Linked DNA regions of Homo sapiens: region 2 is linked to region 1. The links are contacts of gene promoters, found by promoter capture Hi-C in human tissues and cell types (Jung and others, 2019). All regions are on one chromosome and are shown on one strand. The core of a region is centred on a gene start or on the middle of the fragment in contact, and the rest is flanking DNA. Distances in the headings are between cores, read along the strand shown.

What was found. The method cuts DNA at HindIII sites, captures the fragments that hold promoters and counts their contacts. A contact is called where the count stands out against the background at its distance.
Region 2: a fragment that was not itself captured here is called in contact with the fragment with the promoter of LIMK1 in region 1 in 2 of the 25 tissues and cell types used here (dorsolateral prefrontal cortex and spleen).

What each region holds. Positions count from the first base shown.
Region 1 is chr7:74,079,415-74,087,088 of GRCh38, reverse strand. LIMK1 (LIM domain kinase 1) reads right to left here and starts at 3,285. Exons shown (of 16, transcript NM_002314.4): 1 at 3,044-3,285; 2 at 1,245-1,341. The coding sequence starts at 3,098. RefSeq lists enhancers at 763-1,360, 2,472-2,741, 3,228-3,906, 3,802-3,911, 3,907-4,585 and 1 more and silencers at 2,932-2,981, 3,092-3,141, 3,262-3,531. The HindIII fragment of the contact is 14,309 bases long and covers 563-7,674 here.
Region 2 is chr7:74,692,310-74,699,983 of GRCh38, reverse strand. It overlaps GTF2I (general transcription factor IIi), which reads right to left. Exons shown (of 35, transcript NM_032999.4): 4 at 889-1,023. The region is part of intron 3 of GTF2I-AS1 (GTF2I antisense RNA 1); the gene reads left to right. Among named protein-coding and RNA genes, the nearest start is that of GTF2I-AS1, 33 kb to the left of the region's middle. The HindIII fragment of the contact is 3,479 bases long and covers 2,119-5,597 here.

The DNA.
Region 1 (7,674 bases), core at 2,036-4,535:
ATCCTTTGAGACCCCTGCTCTGGCCCTGCTCTGGCTCAAGGCAGGTAGACCCCTGCTCCTGGCTTCTCAGGATGGTCCTACTGGGTGACCTTCAGGTCCTCATGTACTCTTTATCCTCCGCCACAACCCTGACCCTACTTTCTTCCTACCTGTGGGTGTGTGTCTGGACACTGGGGCTGGTGTGACTGGGTTATGCATGTTCGCAAGCAGCCTGGAAGACACTGAGGGTGGCCTGGTTTCCCTTAAGGCCTGGTTTGTCTTCCCTCCCTGCAAGAGCATGAACACCCAGAAGGCAGGAGGGACATTCCTTCCAACTCTTCCCCCTGTCTGGGTGCCAGCAGGGGGCTGAATTGCAGGCACTGGCTCAATTGGAGGTCTCTCCCATCCTCTCTAAGATTTAGATCTCAGAGATCTAGGATGACAACAGAGGCCAAGGCGTTAGCTCACGCCTGTAAGCCTAGCACTTTCGGAGGCCAAGGCAGGAGGATTGCTTGAGGTCACAAGTTCAAGACCAGCCTGGGTCTCAATAGTGAGACCCTGTCTTTACACAAAATTTAAAAAATTAGCTGAGCATTGTGGTGTATACCTATAATCCCAGCTACTCGGGAGGCTGAAGTAGGAGGATCACTTTAGCCCGGGAGATGGAGGTTGCAATGAGCCGAGATGGCACCACTGCACTCCAGCCTGGGCAACAGAGCAAGACCATTTCGAAAAAAGAAAAATACATAAAAGAAAATAAAATGAGGCCAGGAGCGGTGGTTTATGTCTGTCATCCCAGCACTTTGGGAGGCTGAGGTGGGAAGATCACTTGAGGTCAGAAGTTTCAGACCAGCCTGGCTAACATGGCAAAACCCGTCTCTACTAAAAATACAAAAATTAGCTGGGCGTGGTGGTGCACGCCTGTAATCCCAGCTACTCCAGAGGCTGACACAGGAGAACTGCGTGAGCCCAGGAGGAAGAGGTTGCAATGAGCCAAGATCGCACCACTGTACTCCAGCCTGGGTGACAGAGCGAGACTCCGTCTCAAAAAGAAAAAAAAATAGATAAATAAAATGACAACAGGAAGGCCTGTAGGGATTTTCTAGTCAAAACACCTCATGTCATAAATGGTAAATTAAGGCCACGAAGTCACAATAGGGGACGGCACCAGGAGGCATATCCCGGCCTCCCCCATTCCTTGACCAGCCTGTCCTCTCTGGCAGGCCTTGTTTAGGGCAACACAGGCCCTGGGCACCCCACCCTACCTGAAGCAGTCTGCGTGCCAGTCCGCGTTCAGGGCCTGGAGGTACTGGCCATCATAGATCCTCTGGCCGCAGCTTGCACACACGGGCAACTCGCTTCCTGCAGGGTGGGAAGGGAGTTGGGAAGCATTCTCAGGAAGTGTGATCTGGTGCAGGCCCAGCTTGCCCTGCCCACCCCACATATACCTACACCTGCACCAATCCTCGCACACTGCACATGTGCAGCGCCCAGGCAGGGCAGTCGCTGTGCCAAATAGGAGAAGAAAGGGCGCTGGCCTGAGTCTTGCTGAGATACTGACTAGGTTGCCAAGCTTCTCTGGCCCTGTTTCCCTATGTATCAGCTTAGGAGGAGGATCAGGTCCATCCTCCCGCTATAGCATTGGATCTGGCAAGGTAAATGAGGAGAAAGGAAGCAGTGGCTTTAGGGATAAGGCAGTGGGTGACATTCCTATCACAGCCTCCTTTCTTCCCTCTCCTGCCCAGGAAGAAGTACTAAGAGGGCCCTTCAAAGGCAGGGACTGGACAGGGCTGGATTAGTGCATCCTGGGCTGAAGCCAGCTGGGAGGTCAAGGGCAGGAAGCCTGGAGGTGCCGGCCCTAACAGATCCTTGGCAATGAATGCCCTGGCTTGGCAAGGGGAGGGGGCTGCAGACCTGGGTACTCCCAGACACCTGTCCCAGGGAGGCCTGGCACCTCCTCTAGCCAGCCACAGGCATGCTTAGTCATCCTTGGGGCCTGGCACCCTTGGAGCTGGTGGGCCCTGGAAAATGCCCCAGACCTGCCCCTCTCCACTGTACAGAAGGGGAGACTGAGCCCCAGAGATGGCATGGCTTGCCCAGTCACATAGCTAGGTCCCAAGGCCACAACAGCCTGACCCTCTGTGAAGACGCAGGTACCTTAGGTAGGCAGGGGCTACAGGAAGGTGGGCCCCTACCCCAATCAGGTTTTCATGGGCCTGGGAAGAGTTGGTGGCAGGGGGAGGTGTGGAGTCAGGCCCTGCCTTGGGGCCAGGTGGATCTAAGTGACAGGTCAGCGAAGGAGATCCAAGGAGGGGCCCCCAGACCCTGTCCTAGGCTGGGGGAGTCCTTGAACCCTAACTGCAGTGCAGTACTGCGCCTTGGGCCCCAGTGAGGGAGAAGGGGCTAAAGAGGAGGTTAGGATGAGTCATGCTCCCAGCCAAGACTGAGGGCAGGCACCGGGTTTGGGGCACGGACAGGGAGAGTGGATGAGGCTCCCGCAGTACACGGCCTCCGGCTTCCTGGACGCCTATCTCCGCTCTACCCATCTGGCCCCCAATCACCGACACCGGGGGGGCAACTACCCAGTTTCCAAATGTACAGAAGGGGAAACTGAGGACCAGGAAGTCAGCGCCTGGCTCAAGGTCACAGAGCCGGGCAGGCGCCCGGCGGCCACTGGGACCCGGGGCTGCGGCTTCCCCAGCCGCTCTTTCTTCCGAGACTGGATAAAGGGTGGCCCCAGGGCGAGGCCCGGGTGGTGGACAGAGCACGCGGATGGAGGCCGACGCGGGGTGGGCAGTGTCTGGGAGTCCTTCGCGGGGGGACGTGGGAGGAGGAAAAAGGGTCCAGGGGCCCCCAGACCCGCAGGAGGGCAGCTCGCCGGGGGCCGGGGAGGGGGATCCCGGGCGGGAGGGGGACAGGGAGGGGCCTGCGGGCTTCGTAAGGACGAGCTCATCCCGGAGGAGGCAGGGGCGCGGCCTCCTGGCAGACCCGGCCCCCTCCCGTGCCCCACGCTGCCCCGGGCACCCCCTCCAGGCCCTCGCCCCACACCCCGCGGCCCGCGCACCTTCCTCTCCCATACGTTCTTCCCTCCAGGTGCAACAAAGTAGCGTCAACCTCATGCACTCGACGGGGGGCGGGGCCCGGCGGGGCTGGGGCTGGGGGCGGCCGGGCCCGCGAGCTCGCCCACCGCCGCCGGCCCGGGGAGGCGGGGGCGGAGGGCGCGGGCCGGGCCGGGCCGGGCCGGGGGCGCCTCTCGGACACCGGCGGGGAAACCGGCTCGGCGCCGCGGCGGCTTGGGGAGCGAGCGGAGGGGCGGACCGAGGCGGGGCCTGTGAGCTGCGGCACGGGGGCGGGGCGCGGGCGGCCGGCGGCGGGAACGGCCCTGCGCGGCCCCGCCCCCACCAGAAAACCCCGCCCCCACGCCCAAGGCCACGCCTCTAGAGGCCACGCCCCGCTGCGGCCCGGCCTGGGGGCGCCGCGAGCTGGCGCGGCGCGCCCCGCCCCTCCCCGCCCCTTCCGCCCTTCATTCATTCTTCTTTCTCCCAGCGACAGGCCTCGGCTGGGAGCTGCGAGGCCCAGCTGTCTCGGAGGGCCGCTAGCTCTGCTGGGGCAGGCCAGGAGGATGTAGGAGCCTAGAGAAGGGGCCTCCGCTTCCCTGCGCGAGGCCCCCACAGACCCAAACCAGCTGCAGCCGGGAACTCGGATCAGAGCTGGAGAGGCCCTGTGGACCCCCAGGACACTGGTGGTCGCCTTGGGGAGGGGAGGGAGGCGGGCCGGGTTTTGTCCCTCTCTCTGAGGCCTGCATTGAGGCCAGGCTGGGCCCGGGGAAGGTGACGGTCCGCGTCTCAGGCCTCGCGAATGAGCAGCACCAGAGAAAGGAGCGAGCCCCTGCCAGGCGGTGACAGGTGTACTCTTCTCAGTGCCGATTACCTGGAGCTGGGGCTGCCCTGCCCAGGGTCCTGGAGGGAGCACGGGTTTGGGCTGAGTCAAGCGTCCAAAGGAATTGGGTGGTCCAGTCCAGCACTGATGGTGGAACGCCCTGCCTAGATGTGGACAATTCTAGAATGCTGGACATGGGCAGGAAGCAACCCTGTCCCCCCTAGGTCTACCTTCCACGTCATCCCTCTGCCCAGGAAGCAGTGACCGGAGTGGAGCCACGTGCCCACGTGAACCCAGTGAACAAGAGGCAGCGCTAGCCCAGCTCCAACTCTAGTCATCATGTTTGTGGGGAGAGGTCTAGGCACGTCTGCAAAGTGGGGGGCACTCACCCCTGGGTGCAAAACAATTACGTGGGGTGGGAAGAAAATACTAGATTTTTTTTTTCTTTTTTTAGATTCGGTCTCGCTCTGTTGCCTAGGCTGGAGTGCAGTGGCGGGATCTCGGCTCACCGCAGTCTCCACCTCCCAGGTTCAAGCAATTCTCCCACCTTAGCCTCCCGAGTAGCTGATATTACAGGCGTGCACCACCATGACCGACTAATTTTTGTATTTTTAGTAGAGATGAGGTTTCACCATGTTGACCAGGCTGGTCCTGAACTCCTGACCTCAGGTGATCCACCCTCCTCGGCTTCCCAAAGTGCTGGGATTACAGGTGTGAGCCACCACGCCTGGCCAGAATTTTTAATTTCTCATGAGAAAGAAGGCTGGGCACAGTGGCTCACACCTATAATCCCAGCACTTTGGGAGGCCAAGGTGGGAGCATCACGTGGGGCCAGGAATTGGAGATCAGCTTAAGCAATGAAGTGAAACCCTGTCTCTTCTAACTTTTTTTTTTTTTGAAATGGAGTTTCACTCTTGTTGCCCAGGCTGGAGTGCAATGGTGCGATCTCAGCTCACAGCAACCTCCACCTCCCGGGTTCAAGCCATTCTCCTGCCTCAGCCTCTGGAATAGCTGGGATTATAGGCATGCACCACCATACCTGGCTAATTTTGTATTTTTAATAGAGACGGGGTTTCTCCATGTTGGTCAGGCTGGTCTCGAATTCTGGACCTCAGGTGATCCACCCACCTTGGCCTCCCAAAGTGCTGGGATTACAGGCGTGAGCCACCGCGCCCAGACTTTTTTTTTTTTTTTTAATTAGCCAGGCATGGTGGCTCATGCCTGTAGTTAGTTACTTGGGAGGCTGAGGTGGGAGGATACTTGACCTCAGGAGGTTGAGGCTGCAGTGAGCTATGATTGCACCATTGCACTCTAGCCTGGGTGACAGAGACCCTGTCAAAAAAGATAGGGAGGGAAAAAAAGGGGAAGGAAAGAGAGGGGAATGAGAGCCTTGTAACTTGGCTGTAGGGCATATACCAGGCAGGACCCTGGCTGGAAACAGAAAGTGCCACTTAGTGGGGCTAACTGGGGAGAGTTTGATAAAGGGGATGTTTGCAATGCACTGGGGAGGGGGGATTAAAGGAGATCAGTAAGGACTGGCACAGTTGGAGGGGTGGCAGCAGTTACCAGCCCAGGGTAAGGGGGCATAGAGGGGGTCCCTGGAGGAGAGGCCTGCCTGAGAGGAGCTGTGCAAGAGGGGTCCCCAGTTCTGGGGGACTCATGGGGAAGAGGGCCCAGAAGGGCTATTCTGATCTGACTCCCCTGCTCTTCTTATTCTTCCATTGCCTCCCGTTAACCAATCCCGTCTGGATGCAGCGGGCAGGGCCATGTTGATGCTGTGCCCACAGTGCAGGGCAGAGAAGTGCATAGTGGCCTGGAGGGGCTGTGAGCCTGAGCCAGCTTGGTTGAGTGATGTTATCCAGTTTTGACTAAATTAACCCTCACAGAATGGACTCATAGTTGAAAACAATTCCTGCAAAGAAAGCACAGATTGGGCCTGGCGTGGTGGCTCACACCTGTAATCCCAGCACTTTGAGAGGCTGAGGCGGGTGGATCGTGAGGTCAGGAGATCGAGACCATCCTGGCCAACATGGTGAAACCCCGTCTCTACTAAAAATACAAAAATTAGCTGGGCATGGTGGTACGTGCCTGCAATCCCAGCTACTTGGGAGGCTGAGGCAGGAAAATCGCTTGAACCAGGGAGTTGGAGGTTGCGGTGAGCCGAGATTGCGCCACTGCACCCCAGCCTGGTGACAGAGCAAGACTCCATCTCAAAAAAAAAAAAAGAAAGCACAGATTGAAGATGATGCAGACTGGGTGCAGTGGCTTATACCTGTAATCCCAGCACTTTGGGAGGCTGAACTGGGAGGATCGCTTGAGGTCAGGAGTTCAAGACCAGCCTGGGCAACATAGTGAGACCCCCTCACATCTCTTCGGAAAAAAAAAAATTATCTGGGAGTGGTGGTGTGCACCTGTAGTCACAGCTACTCAGGAGGCTGAGACGGGAGGATCGCTTGAGTCCAGGATTTGGAGGCTCTAGTGAGCTCTGATCATGCCATTGTACAGCCTGTCTCAAACAAATAAACAAAAAAAAAAAAAAAGAAGATGCTAACACACCCAGATGAGCGAAAAGATGGAGCTGGCACTTCCACACCTTGTAGGAGCTCCTTGTCAGCCACAGTTCCAGGTGAAACATCAGATCTGACATATTCAGTTACATTGCTCATGCAAGATTTTTTTTGCTGAAAGCAAAAAGGATTTTTGCTTTTTATTTATATTTATTTATTTATTTATTTATTTTGAGATGGAGGTTTGCTCTTCTTTCCCAGGCTGGAGTGCAGTGGCACGATCCCAGCTCATTGCAATCTCCACCTCCTGGGTTCAAGCAATTCTCCTGCCTCAGCCTCCCAAGTAGCTGGGATTACAGGTGTGCACCACCATGCCTGGCTAATTTTTTGTATTTTTAGTAGAGATGGGGTTTCACCAGGTTGGCCAGACTGGTCTCGAACTCCTGACCTCAGGCGATTCGCCCACCTAGGCCTCCCAAAGTGCTGGGATTATAGATGTGAGCCATCTCGCCTGGCTGCAAAAAGGATTTTTGGACTTTTTTTTTTTTTTTTTTTTAAGAGAGACAGGGTCTCACTCTGTCACACAGGGTGGAATGCAGTGGCACGATCGTAGCTCACTGCAGCCTCAAACTCCTGAGCTCAAGTGATCCTCCCACCTCAGACTTCTAGGTAGGTGGACCCACAGGCACACACGCCACGTCTGGCTAATTTTTATCTTTTGTAGAGATGGGGGGGGGTCTTACCATGTTGCCCAGGCTAGTCTCGAACTCCTGTGCTCAATTGATCCTTTCCACTTTGTGTTCCCAAAGTGCTGGGATTATAGGCATGAGCCACTGAGTCCGGCCTGATAAAAGTTTTTTGTTTTGTTTTTGTTTTTTTGAGATGGAGTCTCGCCCTGTTGCCCAAGCTGGACTGCAGTGGCGCTAACTCGGCTCACTGCAACCTCTGCCTCCTGGATTCAAGTGATTCTCCTGCCTCAGCCTCCCGAGTAGCTGGGATTACAGGTGCCTGCCACCACGCCTGGCTAATTTTTGTATTTTTAGTAGAGATAGGGTTTCACCATGTTGGCCAGGCTGGTCTTGAACTCCTGACCTCAAGTGATCATCCCACCTCGGCCTCTTAAAGTGCTGGGATTACAGTGTGAGTCACCACTCCCGGCCAATAAAAGTTTTTTCTATGAGGAGTTGAGCGCCCCATGGGAATGGCTTACTCACTCTAGAGGTTAGAATTGCCCAGTTGCAAATTTGTGCCTGGCTGGACACAAGCCAGTGACAAGCAGGAGGCTCCTTGGGGATGCTGCTGTAACGTG
Region 2 (7,674 bases), core at 2,609-5,108, 610 kb before region 1:
TATTGTCTTTCTTGAAGATGGTCCCATCCTGGCATATTCTCAGGTACAATTTGGCCTCAGAATACAGAAGCCCAGCACATCCAACTATTACCATAAAATACCAGGAATGTTTTGGCTAATATTCTCATTGAAAACTTATCAGGTAAATACAAACTTCCCATTTACAAATGAGTATATACTGTCAACCTATTGGGCAGCGAGCCTCACACATACTGAAAATCCCATTCCAGAGAATTGATTTTCACCTATGACCCTGCAGTAAAACCTCAATCTCCTCCTTTGACTGTTTTCTTGTAAGAGCTTTGTTTTATGATGTGACAAGAGTAAGAAAAGGTGGCTTTGCATGGAATTAGAGAGATGAGCATGCTTATTAGAAAGAAACAGCTAGGCCAGGCATGGTGGCTCACGCCTGTAATCCCAGCACTTTGGGAGGCCAAGGTGGGTGGATCACCTGAGATCAGGAGTTCGAGACCAGCCTGGCGAATGTGGTGAAACCCCATCTCTACTAAAATTTAACACAAAAATTAGCCGGGCATGGTGGCGGACACCTGTAATCCTAGTTACTCAGGGGGCTGAGGCAGGAGAATCACTTGAAACCGGGAGGCGGAGATTGCAGTGAGCTGAGATCGTGCCACTGCACTCCAGCCTGGGCGACAGAGCGAGACTCCATCTCAAAAAAAAAAAACAGAAAGAAAGAAACAGCTCTACTGGCCACACTTCCTCCTGGGTTCCTTCAAAATGGAAGTGGAAGAAAGTAAGGTTATTGCTAATCCATTCAGTCACTGAAAATGTGTGTTATATGATTTTCGAATCAATTACATAAGCTTCCCTTTAGAAAATTCAATTATATAATGTATCTTTTAGAAAAATTAAATCTATTGTTTTTACCATAGCAAAAGCAGAAATAGTCCTCAACTGTTTTTCTGAGTGTTTCAATTTCTACAGCATCTACACTCATCCGATTTGCCTGGGTTGTAGATTTCATTTTATGCATCTCTGCAGCTTTTTCTTCTTCTTCAACACCTGTAAAAAAAATAAAAAATAAAATAAAAAAATAATAATAAGGTCCATATCCATTACCTTAATATTTGGTTTTTAGTAAAAATCGTTTTCCTGTATCCTAACAGGGAAAACTACTTTTATCATGTATTCTAACAGGAAAAAACTATTTCTTAACCATTCTTTAACATTTATTAATCATTGTAACCAATGATTTGTTATTTTGTAACAAAATAGCAAGTCATTTGTGATTTGTTATAAAAGCAAAAAAGAGGACAAGCCCAAGGGCTCACGCCTGTAATTCCACCACCTTGTGAGGCTGAAGCAGGAGGATTGCTTGAGCCCAGGAGTTCAAGACCAGCTTTGGCAACATAACAAGGACACATCTCTGCAAAAAAATGAAAATAGCCAGGTATAGTGTTGTATGTCTGCAGTCCTAGCTGTCTGGGGGCTGAAGTGAGGGCTGCTTGAGTCTAGAAGTTTAAGGCTGCAGTGAGCTATGATGGGGCCGAGAACATACCACAGCACTCCAGCCTGGGTGATGGATAGAGACTGTGTCTCTTAAATTAAAAAAAAAAAAAAAAAAAAAAAAAAAGGCCAGGTGCGGTGGCTCACACCTGTAATCCCAGCACTTTGGGAGGCTGAGGCTGGCAGATGACAAGGTCAAGAGATTGAGAGCGTCCTGGTCAACATGATGAAACCACCGTCTCTACTAAAAATACAAAAATTAGGCCGGGCGCGGTGGCTCACGCCTGTAATCCCTGCACTTTGGGAGGCCGAGGCGGGTGGATCACGAGGTCAGGAGATCGAGACCATCCTGGCTAACACAGTGAAACTCCGTCTCTACTAAAAATACAAAAAATTCTCCGGGCGTGGTGGCGGGCGCCTGTGGTCCCAGCTACTCAGGAGGCTGGGGCAAGAGAATGGCGTGAGCCCGGGAGGTGGAGCTTGCAGCGAGCGGAAATTGCGCCACTGCACTCCAGCCTGGGCGACAGAGTGAGACTCCGTCTCAAACAAACAAACAAACAAACAAACAAAAAATACAAAAATTAGCTGGGCATGGTGGCACACACCTGTAGTCTCAGCTACTTGGGAGGCTGAGGCAGGAGAATTGCTTGAACCCGGGAGGTGGAGGGTGCAGTGAGCCAAGATTGCACCACTGCACTCCAGCCTGGCGACAGAGCAAGACTCCGTCTCAAAAAAATAAAAAATAAAAGGCAGGGAGATGGAGATTTAAAAGGGAACTTTTCAAATAAAAATCTAAAATACTTAGATGAATGAAAGTAATATGAAATGGTGACCATCTCTGAAATAAGTGTAGCTATAGCTAAAAATACTACATACCAGTACCCTTGTACTACTTTAAAAAAGAAAATTTGTATTGGTTACAAATTTAAATATGAGAAGATTATCGACACAAAAAAATTCTAGGCTTGCAAAGTCTAGCACGATAACAAATAGATACATGTGGCACTTGCAACTTGGCTGGTCCAAATTCAGATGTTTCATGAGTGTACAATACACACTGGATTTTGAAGACTTGGTACAAAAAAAGTATGACAAATATCCCATTAATAATTTTTTTTTTCTGGAGACGGAGTCTTGCTCTGTCACCAGGCTGGAGTGCAGTGGCACGATCGTGGCTCACTGCAATCTCCACCTCCCAGGTTCAAACGATTCTTCTGCCTCAGCCTCCCGAGTAGCTGGGATTACAGGTGCGCGCCACCACTCCCAGCTAATTTTTGTATTTTTAGTAGAGACAGGGTTTCACCATGTTGGCCACATGGTCTCGATCTCCTGACCTCGTGATCCGCCTGCCTCTGCCTCCCAAAGTGCTGGGATTACAGGCATGAGCCACCACACCCGGCCCATTAATAATTTTTAAATTGATTACATGTTGAAATATTTTAGATATAATAAGTTAAAGTATTACCAGTAAAATGAATTTCACTTGTTTTTCTTTATTTTTCTTTAATGTTCTAACTAGAAAGTTTTAAATTATGTGAGAGACTCACATGATACTTTTTTCTGCTGAACAACGCTTTTCTAAATCCCAGAAAAGCGCTCAGAATTCTCCTGAAGAATTTCTATGATTGCCTCATAAACCTATTGATTACCTTCCAGAAGACCATTATTGCTCCTTATCTGCAAAGTACTTTACACAAACAAGTAAGAGGTACTTGAGAATTAGGCCGGGTGCAGTGGCTCATGCCTGTAATCCCAGCACTTTGGGAGGCCAAGGAGGGCAGATCGCCTGAGGTCAGGAGTTTAAGATCAGTCTGGCCAACATGGTGAAACCCCACCTCTACTAAAAAATACAAAAAATTAGCCAGGCATGGTGGTGGGCGCCTGTAGTCCCAGCTACTTGGGAGGCGGAGGCAGAAGAATGGCGTGAACCCGGGAGGTGAAGCTTGCAGTGAGCTGAGATCGTGCCACTGCACTCTAGCCTGGGCGACAGAGCGAGACTCCGTCTCGAAAAAAAAAAAAAAAATTAGCCGAGTGTAGTGACACACGCCTGTAATCCCAGCTACTAGAAAGGCTGAGGCAGGAGACTTGCTTGAACCTGGGAGGCAGAAGTTGCAGTGAGCCAAGATCGCACCACTGCACTCCATGGGCGATAGTGAGACTCTGTCTCAAAAAAAAAGAGAAGAAGGAGAATTAGATACAGAAACCATTCTCCATGGATCAAATTATTAACAATGAGGCCAGTCACGGTGGCTCACGCCGGTAATCCTAGCACTTTGGGAGGCCAAGGTGGGTGGATCACTTGAGGTAAGGAGTTCGAGACCAGCCAGGCCAACAGGGCAAAACCCCATCTCTACTAAAAATACAAAAATTAGCCAGGTGTGCCTGTAATCCCAGCTACTCGGGAGGCTGAGACAGAAGAATCGCTTGAACCTGGGAGGCTGAGGTTGCAGTGAGCCAAGATCACGCCACTGCACTCCAGCCTGGGTGACAGGGCGAGACTCCTTAAAAAAAAAAAAAAAATTATTAGCAATAAAAACAAAGTATGAATACTGATGGACAGTGACTACAGCTTGCAGCTGAGGACAGCGCCCTTAATGCTTAGTTCTAACCAGTGGAGAACCACATAAGCCAGGCAGGACAGGGAAGGGGAGAATAAGTACAGCTGCAGGCGGGCTTATGGTATTGGTGGGGCAGACAGCAGCTGATACACACACAATCAAAACAGCATTATTAGTATAAAGAAACACAGAAACATAATCAATGCTTGAACATTTCTCAACATTATAATAATGTCAACATTTTAAAAATAAGTTACTAACATAAAGCTTAGAAGATTACAGCATGGGGGTAAGGGACAGGGGGAGGAATACAGTGGCAGGGGATAGTTTTTAAAACAAACTAAAAATACAATTGGGAATTAAAATTCGTGAATTAACAAAACTTTTTGTTCACTAATAAGTTGCTGAATGTATCACCAATTTAATCTAAACTGACATCAGAAGTTTAACTTTAGACCTTAGTGGCATACAAGCATCTGCAGGTTCATTTCCAAATCACCACAATAATACAAGTATAAAGTAAAGTCACACAGATGTTTTGGTTTCCCAATGCATATAAAAGTTACATTGACTCTTGCTTTCATGAAAGGTCTCTCTGTAGTGTGAGGCTATTTGGTAGCATTTCACCCACGGTAGAACTTGTTTCAAAATTGGAGTCAATCCTCCAAAACCCTGCCATTGCTTTATGAACTAAGTTTATGTCATACTCTAAATCCTTTGTTATCATTTCAACAGTGTTCATGGAGGTTGCAGTGAGCTGAGATCGCGCCATTGCACTCCAGCATGGGCAACAAGAGCAAAACTCTGTCTCAAAAAAAACTAAATAAAAAATAAAAATAAAATGGCAAGCATCTCCTTATACACCTCCATCAGGACTCTGTGAGTGACTGTGAGCAGTCATATTTTGAAAGCAATCTTTTTTTCTGAGCAGTAGGTCTCAAAAGTGGGCTTAAAATATTCGGTGAACAACACTATCAAGAGATGTGCTGTCATCCAGGCTTTATTGTTCTATCAATAGAGCACAGGCAGAGCAGATTTAGTGTAACTCTTCAGGACCCCAGGATTTTCAGAATGGTAAATGAACATGGCTTCAAAGTAACCAGCGGCGTTAACCCCTCACAAGGAATTCAGCTTGTCCTTTGAAGCTTTGAAGCCAGGAATGAACTTCTCTCTAGCTAGCAAAGTCCTAGAGAGTATCTTCCAATATAAGGCTGTTTTGTCTACGTTGAAAATCGGGTTTTGTGAGTGTAGCCATCTTCATGAATTACCTCAGCTAGATCTTCTAAAGAACTTGCTGCAGTTTCTACATCAAACACTTGCTGCTTTACCTTGCACTTTTATGTTATAGAGACTCTGTCTTTCCTTTTTTTTTCTTTTGAGACAGATCTCAAGAGTCCAGGCTGGAGTGCAATGGCGAGATCTCAGCTCACTGCAACCTCCGCCTCCTGGGCTCAAGCGATTCTCGTACCTCAGCCTCCAGAGCAGCTGGGACTACAGGTGCACGCCACCAGGCCTGGCTAATTTTTTGTATTTTAGAAGAGACGGGGTTTCACCAGGGTGCCTAGGGTGGTCTTGAACTCCTGAGCTCAGACGATCTGCCCACCTCAGCCTCCCAAAGTGCTGGGATTACAGGCGTGAGCCACCGCCCCCAGCTGACTGTGTCTTTCCTTAAACCTCATGAGCCAACCTCTGCTAGCTTCCAATTTTTCTTCTGCAGCTTCCTCACCCATCTCAGCCTTCACAGAATTGAAGAGAGTTAGGGCCTCACTCTGGATTACGCTGTGGCTTAAGGGAATGCTGTGGCTGGTTTGATCTTCTATCCACACCATTCAAACTTTCTTCCTATCAGCAATAAGCTGTTTTGCTTTATCATTTGCGTGTTCACTGGAGCAGCAGTTTTCATTTCCTTCGAGAACTTTTCCTACGCATTCTCCACCTGGCTACCTGTTCAGCCTAGCTTTCAGCCTACCTCAGCTGCTGACATGCCTTCCTCACTAAGCTTCATCATTTCTGCTTTTGATGTAAAGTGAGCAGCCTGCAAGTCTTCCTTTCACTTGAACACTCAGAGGCCACTATAGGTCTATTAATTGGCCTAATTTCCTTTTTTTTTCGTTGAGACGGAGTCTTGCTCTTTCGCCAGGCTGGAGTGCAGTGGTGCGATCTTGGCTCACTGCAACCTCCACCTCCCAGGTTCAAGTAATTCACCTGCCTCAGCCTCCCAAATAGCTGGGACTACAAGCACGCGCCACCACACCCAGCTAATTTTTTGTATTTTTAGTAGAGATGGTGTTTCACCATGTTGGCCAGGATGGTCTCGATCTCTTGACCTCGTGGTCCACACATCTCGGCCTCCCAAAGTGCTAGGATGACAGGCATGAGCCACCGTGCCTGGCCGGCCTAATTTCAATATTGTGTCTCAGGGACCAGGGAGGCCTGAGGAAAGGGAATGATGGGGGACCAGGCGATTGGTGAAGCAGTCAGAACACATATTTACCTATTAGGTTTGCCATATTATATGTGTGCGTTCGAGGACTCCCAGTACAATTACAATAGTAACATCAAAGATCACTGATCTCAATACCTTGAACCAAGGAGGCAGGGGATGCAGTGAGCCGAGATCGCACCACTGCACTCCAGCCAGGGTGACGGAGCAAACCTCCATCTCAAAAAAAAAAAAAAAAAAAAAAAAAAAATTCCACTACAGCGGATACAATAATCATGAAAAAGTCTCAAATAATGCTATGCCAAGAGTTACCAAAATGCAACACAGAGAACCAAGTAAGCACATGCTGCAGGAAAAATGGCACCAATAGACTTGACACAAGGTTGCCACAAATCTTCAATGTGTGAAAACTGCAGTGTCTGCAAGGCACAAAAAAAAAAAATGAGATATGCCCGGTCGGGCACAGTGGCTCATGCCTGTAATCCCAGCACTTTGGGAGGCCGAGGCGGGCAGATAACCTGAGGTCAGGAGTACGAGACCAGCCTGACCAACATGGAGAAACCCCATCTCTACTAAAAATACAAAACTAGCTGGGTGTGGTGGTGCATGCCTGTAATCCCAGCTACTCGGGAGGCTGAGGCAGGAGAATCACTTGAACCCAAGAGGCAGAGGTTGCGGTGAGCCGAGATCGCACCATTGCACTCTAGCCTGGGCAACAAGAGCAAAACTCCGTCTCAAAAAAACAAAAATGACAACAACAAAAAATGAGGTATGCCCATATATAATATGTGCCTATAGATACCCTAGCTTTTTTTGTTCCCTTTCCATGTTTTTAAGAAAATGCTGTATCAATCAGTTAACATAAAACCTACAGTGTTAGGTTAAACACAGATATGAAAATGGTCATACTGTGAAAGGCTGTGGGTATTAAAACCCTATAGTAAATTTCAACACTGTTCCAATGTCAAATAAGCTCACCACTGCTCTAAATGCAGATTACAAAACTCACTGAAGACTGTGATAAGGTGACTCGTATCTGTGAGGGAGTGGAGGAGAACTGTTTAATTTTGCAATATGCTTAAACAAACTTGCACAGTGAATCACTGGTTTTCAACACACCAACTTTTTATCTAGAAAAGAACTCCCGGCCGGATGTGGTGGCTCACGCCTGTAATCCCAGCACTTTGGGAGGCCGAGGTGGGCTCC